Linked DNA regions of Homo sapiens: region 1 is linked to region 2. The links are contacts of gene promoters, found by promoter capture Hi-C in blood cells and fetal thymus (Javierre and others, 2016). All regions are on one chromosome and are shown on one strand. The core of a region is centred on a gene start or on the middle of the fragment in contact, and the rest is flanking DNA. Distances in the headings are between cores, read along the strand shown. Region 1 has its middle 8.0 kb from the start of LINC01574. Region 2 holds the start of UNC5A (unc-5 netrin receptor A).

Evidence for each region. Contacts are between HindIII fragments. The CHiCAGO score rates a contact against its expected background, and 5 or more counts as called.
Region 1: a contact is called between a fragment that was not itself captured here and the fragment with the promoter of UNC5A in region 2, in 1 of 17 cell types (endothelial precursors). The highest score is 5.1, in endothelial precursors.

Annotation. Positions count from the first base shown.
Region 1 is chr5:176,749,045-176,753,274 of GRCh38, reverse strand. No RefSeq gene overlaps it. Among named protein-coding and RNA genes, the nearest start is that of LINC01574, 8.0 kb to the right of the region's middle. RefSeq lists an enhancer at 3,501-4,159. The HindIII fragment of the contact is 3,606 bases long and covers 1-3,543 here.
Region 2 is chr5:176,808,984-176,812,689 of GRCh38, reverse strand. UNC5A (unc-5 netrin receptor A) reads right to left here and starts at 2,131. Exons shown (of 15, transcript NM_133369.3): 1 at 1,870-2,131. The coding sequence starts at 1,939. The HindIII fragment of the contact is 10,823 bases long and covers 1-3,706 here.

The DNA of each region.
Region 1 (4,230 bases), core at 491-2,990, 59 kb after region 2:
TTTACCAAACCCAAGATTGCTAAGATTTTCTTCTAGAAGTTTTATAGCTTTGCTTTTACATTTTGGTCTATGATCCATTTCAAGGACCATACATCTAATTTTTTAGGCCTACTTTATGAGGATCATAGACCCTAATTTCAAGGATCATAGACCATTTCAGTTTGTATACGGTGTGAGATAAGGTCAAGGTTTCTTTTAAATTTTATTTTTATCTTTTTACATATGTTTATCCAAGTGTTCTAGCATCAGTTGTTGAAAAGAATATCCTTTATTCATTAATTGCCTTGGTATCTTTTTCAAAAATCAACAGCTGTGGTCTGTTTCTTGAATCATTCTTCTGTTCCATTGATCTAGATGTCTATCTTTATACCAATACCACACTGTCTTGACTATTGTAGCTTTAATAATGTCTCGAAATAAGGTAGTGTAAATTCCCCATCTTATTCTTCTTTTTCAAAATGTTTGGTTATTCTAGATCATTCCATAGAGATTTTAGAATGAGCTTGTCAATCTCCACCAAAAAAAAAAAAAATTGTTTTTATAGATGAGTTTGGGAGAATCAACATCTTAACCACATTGAATCTTCCAATCCATGAACGCAATGTATTTCTGTATTTATATTTCCTTTAATTTCTCTCAGCAATGTTTTGAGTTTTATATGTGCAGATCTTACACATCTTCTGTCAAATTTATCACCCCCTTTTTTATTTTTAGAATTTCCATTTGATTCTTTTTTCTAATAGTTTCTAGTTCTCTGCTGAAATTCCCGTTCTTGTTATCTAGCTTCTTGAATATACTAATTACAGTTATTTCAAAGGCCAACTATGGTACCTCGAATATCTGAGACCACGTGGATATGTTTGTAATGTGTTATTTTTCTCTTGGTTTTCATCCCGTTCTTGTATTTCTGCATTTCTGTTTTTCACTGAATATCAGACATAATAAATGAACATGGAAAAGGTAATTTGAGGCTCTGGATGCTGTTATCCTCCTCCAGGGAGGATTTACTTTAACTTCTGCTAAGCCAGGGGCAGCATCAATCTTAAATTGCATTTATCCAACCAGGAATTAAGATGATTTGAAACAGGCCTGCAGTCCCTGAAAGGGCCGGTTTCGTTCTGGCTAACTTACTTCTAGGGTATAGTGCTTTGGGATCCCGGATGAAAGCCTAGGCTATTTACCAACGTTCTTGCTTTTAGAAAAATTGTTCTGAAATACACAGAACATAAGATTTACCATCTTAACCCTGTTTAAGTGTGTATGTCAGTGCATTAAGTACCTTCCCATTGTTGTGCAGCCATCAGCACCATCCATCTCCAGAACTCTTTCCATCATCCCCAAGTGAAACGCCACATCTATTAAACACTAACTCCTAATTCCACCTCCTTCAAGCCCCTGGCAACTACCATTCCACTTTCTGTCTCTATGAAGGTGATTACTCTGAATATCTCACGTAAGTGGAATCATGCAGTATTTGTCTTCATGCAACTGGCTGACTTCACTTAGCGTAACGTTGTCTAGGTTCATCCACATCGTACCGTGTGTCAGAACTTCCTTCCTTTTTAAAGCTGAGTAATGTTCCCTTGAGTGTATATGCCACATTTTGTTTATCCTTTTTCATCTGTCGATGGGCGCTTGAGTTGCTTCTGCCTTTAAGCTATTTTGTCGTGCTGTTCTGAATATGGGGATATAGATAGGGTCCTTATTTCTCAAGAGGCCCTGGATTCCAGTTTTTGTCTCCCCAGCCCCATGAGATGGCTAACGTGCTTCTCAGCCTCTCAGGCACTGCTCAGAAGTGGCAAACACTGCAGGGGACAGAGCTCTGCCGAACAGCAGGCTCCCCTCTGTGAGCTTCCCTCCTCTCTGGGATCTGGGATCTGGGACCCTTGGTGCCTCTCCAGTATCTTCAAACAGCTGTTTCTGTAGTATTTCATCCAGCCTTCCGAATTGCTCCCAGCAGGGTGATTGGTCTGATGCAGGCTAGTCCATCATAGCTAGAAGCAGATGTGTCAGTATAATTTTAACGTGTGTGTCTATTATGCCCGGAGTTGAGCATCTTTTCTGATGTTTAAATGATGTTTGTATTTTCTCTGAAATCCTTACCCCGTTTTTCGACTGGTTCTTTCTTATTGATTTGTAGGCATGTGTTATACGTCCAGGAATTTAGGCTGTTGTTTTTGATCTAAAAATTGCTTTCTAGGGCCAGTTCTCACTTGCTGTATAATCTTAGGCAAGTCCCCTTCTCCTCTGAGACTCAGTCTCCTCGTCTGTGAAATAGGGTGAGAATGCTTGATTCACCACATGGTCTCAAAGTTTCCTTTTGATCTGCAATTCATGGATTAGTGACCTTCTACTTTGTAGGTGAGACCAAAGAAAAAATTGTTATTGAGACCAAAAAACATCCTCATTGCACTCTCCCTCCACATTCCATTGCACATATTTATTGTACTCTGATTTCTGGCTGCCCACGGGCTTTAGAAACATTGATCACAGAAGGCAGGAGCAGGGAGCTCAGAGTGTGTGTGCTTTCATGCTGAGGACCACGGCTATGTGACAAAAAGCCACATCTCCCAAACTTTAGTCATTTGCATGATACACTCATGATTTTCGCTATACCCTTGTACCACACGCGGTATTATTTACTTATTTGTTTCAGTTCATTTAAATACCTAGTTTCTCCTTGTCTTGAATAAGAATGTTGGAGAAATCACAGGTTTGCTGTGCTAGAGTATTTTTTCTGATACAGAGGAACAGAAAGGATCAGCGATGATCACTTAAAGTGCTGTTTGCATGCTCCTCCATCCTCCATGAGCAGCCCTGGGGACAGGACCAAGGGCCTGCAGTGCTCCCGGCGAACCCACGGCCTCCGCTCAGCTGCTGGGAAACTTTGCTCAAGCATTATTCAAAGTTACTCATTATTGCTGGAGCATTCCGACTGATCCACATGCTCAGAAAGCTCTGGCTTTGTGGCTGAGGATTGTTTTTGTGCAGAAATGTTTGCTTCCTTGGATGAAAGGGGGCCTGAGATGGCCCCCAGACAGAAGAGAACTTTGCCGTAGCCACCACCGGAGGTCTCTGGAAAATTTTCCCCTTTTGGAGGCTGCAATCTGCGACGCAGAGCCTTTCTCCTTCCCCTTCTGAAGTTGGCTATTGCTTTTAGCCCAGAGCCATTGCAAGTCTCAGAGAGCAAAGATACTGTGGGAGCCCTAAAATAAATTCTAAAGTCCAAAATGGAACACATTTAAAGTGAGCTCTGGAGAGAAAAATGGATAACGCTTTAGAGCTGTTTTCACAAAAGAAATCACCCAACCAATACATCATTGGGCCCTTTTAACTATGGCATCTGGATAGATTTAATTTTGACTTTTGACGTGACCAATCAACTCATACATAATCTCCAAGCCAGATAGTAACTACCTTGCCACCTTCTCTGTTTAGGGGCAGACTTGTTTCTTCAGCAAATACCAACGAAGACCTACTGAGTGGCAGTTCTCTGCGGGGCCCTGGGCTGCCAGTGGTGAGATAAAGCACACACAGGAAGCTTCTGGTCTGGTGGACAAATTGACCTCGTTCTGGGAAACTCCAGCACATCTTTGAGATGCTTTGGGCGGCAGAGCTGAACACCACTGGCCTGGGAGTTTCTAGGAAAAGCTTCCCGGACCACAGGGGCTCAGTGTCTGTGCTGTCCTTTCCGGAACCTTTCCCTCCTCCAGCGAGCAACCTGGCCCCCCACACTCACTGCAGCTCACGCCCATCCACTGATAAACAGGCACAGTCTCACTCCAGGGGCAGGGGCCTTGAGCAAGGTGAATGTGGATCTGTTGAGCCACACCATGAGCGCACTGTCATCTCCTGCGGGATCATCTACGGGGTAACCCCCAGAGTCAGGAAATGGATGTTGGTCTCAAAGGGAGCCCACCATTTCCCTAGACGGGTAGGGCTGACTCTGGCTTTGTGGCCAGGTGCTAATGTCCTGTAGGCGATTTCACAGCGGTTCCCACATAGCCTGGGGCAGGACCAGGCTTTCTCCTTGTCCTTATGCCCTGTCACCTTCTACATGTCCCACCCCCGAGGATGGCCTGAGTCAGGTGATGCTACGATTCCAGGGGCTTGGACAGCATCACTCCTATCCAGAACGCTGATGGGAAATGAGTGACCGCTGGCCGTTTGTGACCATTGGTGACTACAGAGGCCCTCAGAGAGACTCAGCTTCCAGATGACCACCTGGTG
Region 2 (3,706 bases), core at 882-3,381:
CTTGGGCCAGGCCTCAACAGATGCCCTGCCAACCAGGGATGCAGTTTCCCCACCCCCACAGCCTCCTGAGGAGTCCCTGTGGCAACCCCCCGCTCCAGGCCGCAGCACCCTGCTTCACCGGTACCTGTGCCCCCTTATCTGTACACGCTCACCTGTGCAACTGCACACAGCCGTCACACACGTGCGGCATGCTGGTCATCACACACGTTCATCAGGGCACACACATGCCAATGCTGCACACACCATGCCAACCCCCCTGGTTACCCGGGCACACATGTCAACCCACAGCCTTCACACGTGCTCACGTGGGCGACATGCAGCTATGACCACACAGCCCTCAAAAGCATCAACTCAGAAAACATTTCCAGGGTACCTACTGGGTGTCAGGCAACACCCCACCTGTGTGTGGGGCACTAATATCCCCACCTCATCATGGACAACAGTGCAACCTGCACCCGGGTGCTCATCTGCGGAGCTGCACACACGCCCCTAACACACACATGTGGCGGACACGGACACACACCCAACAGCAGTTCAGCCTCTCAGCTTGGTCAGGATTAGAAGGAGAGGCCCTGGGGAAGAAGAGGGGTGCTGATGGAGAAGGGAGATAGAAGGGGTGGGATGGAGTAGAGAGGGGTACTGAGGAGGCAGGATGGGGCGGGCGGTCAGGCAGTGGTGGGTGCAGGATGCGCTGCGCAGAGACACCCTTTAAGGAAACAGCCATCGGCCTCAATCATCAGGCTGGCTCCTGAGCTCCCACTCATTGATCTCTGATCAATCTGGTTTGGCAGCTCAGAAACCCCAGTGCTCCCTTCCAACACCCCTGTTATAAGCAGCGGCCTGGCCAGGCTGGGGAGTAACCGCCCAGGTTCTAGGGGCAGCAAGAATCGAGAATTGCCAGGGTAAGCCTCAAGCCCCCTTGACCACACAAATGGCACCCACCCCCCACCACCACAGACACATACGCTCAACTCAGCTAAGTGCATGGGGGGCAGAGATCAGGAGGCCCCCACAGCTCAGCCTAGGTGAAGGCTCAGGGACAGCAGACAAAGGATGCAGGGGAACTTCCTCCCCCCAAGCCCCTCCCAAGGGAATGAGGTGGGCTGAGGGCTGAGTTAGCAGTGGGTTAGGGTGACCAATGGGGCATGCAGGGGCCAAGAAAGGCTATGGAGTTTAAGGAAGAAGGGGAAACTGGCGGACCAACCACACACAACTCTGGCCCCCCGCACCAGGGAGGCCAGGAGCCACAGCCCCGGCCACCGGGACCGCGGCGCTTTGACTGTGCTGGCTGCAAGGACTGGGGGCTGGTGTATGCGCCTCCACGCCTGAGTGTGTGCGTGTGAGAGCGTGTGTGGCGGGGACAGAGGAGGACACTGTGTTCTGGACGTGGGCAGAGGCCAGGTGCCAAGCTGGGAGATTGTGAGTGGCTGTTTAGGGCAGATGCTACCGGGAAGAGGTATCTTAAACGTTCCCCGCACCCCCCATTTCCTGGGCACTGGGATAGGCTCAAAACCCTCTAATCTTCGAATCCTCAAAGTCAGGCTCCCTGGGGTTGATCCAAACCCCCAGCCCTGCTCCGGGCCCAGGCAACCAGCAAACTTCCCCCACCCGGAGGCGTGGGGTGTCTACACTCGCCAGCCCCGCGGGCTGACAGCTGCTCCTGGACTTGGCAGAACCCAGGCTTCCGGGAGAGCGCGCGGGGAAGCTGCGCAGCAGCAAGAAGAGCCCCCCGCGTCCCGCCTCGCAAAGTTTGGCCTCGGGGGGCTCCCAGCCGGGTCTGGCAGCGCTGGTCAGGGACCCCCAGAGCAGCGAGCGTTCGCGCGCACGGTCCCCCGCAAGCCTCCCCAGAGCGCGCGCGGCGTGACTCACCCGAGCCGCGGAGCCAAGCGGCGAGGACTATGCCCAGGAGCGCTGGCCACAGGCCGGGCCGGACGGCCATGGCCGCGGGCGGGCAGGCGGGCGGGCCGGGCGCGGGGCCCCGCGGGCGGGAGGGCGGCTTTAGCGCCTCAGCCCGGAGCCCCAGCTCGGGGCGCCCCCGGGGCCCATGCCAGCGGACTGCGCTGCCTCCGGGCGGCCGGCTGCCGGGCGCACGCGGCGCGTGGCTCCCTTGGGCACGGGAGCGCAGCAATGCAGCCGGGGCGGAGCGCAGCGCCAGCCGCGCCGCGCACCGAGCCAGCCGCGCCGCGGAGCCCGCAGCCGGAGAGCGGGCCGGTGGGCGCCGCAAAACCCGGACTGGAGCGACGGAGCGGGGCGGCGGCTGGGAGGGGCGGGGGAAGGAAGGAGGGGCCGGGCCGCCCCGCGCAGCGCGCGCGGGCCACCCCCAGCACCGGGAATCCCTCTGGGCGATGCCTGAGGCTCCCCCAGGGAGGGGCTTGGGGTGGTGGGCGTGGAGGCCTCCCACCGCCCCGCGGGGTCTCCAGGGACAGGGGCAGGAGTCTGAAACCCGGAGTGGATCGGTGCTCCGGATCCGGGCTCTCGCGGGCCCGCCAGTCTGCGCACAGGTGGCCCGGGAGGGGCCCGGGGCTGCGGCGACCCCGGCGCGGCGCCAGCCTGCGGAGAGCCGCCCAGGGCAGGGGTGCCCCGGGCAGGTTCCGCTGCAGTCCTCTCCCCCGCCCTTTCCTCGCGGCCGCGCTCCGGGGTCGTCCGGGCGCCGCGGTACGCTGCCAGCCCGCGGCTTGGTTAGGGGACTGCGGGAGAGCCCCGGGGCCCTGGCCCGCGCGCAGAGGTGCCCTGGCCACCAGAGCTGGCAGGCCAGACTCGGGGACACCCGCAGTCCCAGCCTCGCAGGCTGGTGGATTCCAGGGGCGCGCCTCACACCATGACCCAAGGTTTCCCTAACCCCTCGGCGCCGTTCGCCGAAGGAAAACAACCTTCAGGCGCAGCACACCCGACTGGGCGCGCGGTGTTTGAGCCCCGAGAGCGCACGGCGCCCGCGACGTGGGTGTAAAGGAACGAGCTGGGCTTTGGCAGCTAGGGAGACCGGGGGTAGGGTCCAGGCGACTTCACCTTCCAGCTCTGTGACCTTGGTCAAGTCACGTCGTCTCCTGGAGCCTCCAGCAGTGACCGCTGCTGGAGTCTCCTGTGCCCCACCCCCATTCCCTAATCGGGTTAAAATAAACAGAGGGCTGCCTTGAAGGAGAAAGGAAATGACAGCCGCGTGCGGTGTGCCTGGGGGGAGTGATCGGAAAAAGAGAGGGTCCTAGTCTGGGTCGGGAGGGGAATGAGCAGGGTGAGGGCAGGGTCGCAAACTCAAACGCCTACGGGGCCGGTCGATAATATAAATTGGCGCTGCAGGCTAGGCGATGTAAGGGATGGTCTTGCTTCCACAAAGAGATATGAGCTCTCCTATATTTCTTGAGACACGAGGCCCTCTCTCGGTCTGTCTTTTGTTTCCCACTTTTGATAGAGAAGGGTTATGAAAAATGTTTTGCTTTCCTCTTAAGTCTACTATAAAAAACACCAGCTAAAGCTCCAGAGGCAACCATACAGACGCTGGGCTCCATCGCCAGGGAGGCAAAGGGCAGTGCTGGGGACAGGCACAAGGATCCCATCTCAAGGGGCAGCTGCCTTTTCTGCTCCAGGTGCTGGTTGTCGGGGGAGGGGACCGGGGCACAGTATAGCCGCATCTTCCAAATTTTCAACAGAAGCCGTCGTATGTGAAATATTCTGATTTAAAATTTTTAACTAGTAAAAAATAATTTTTTAG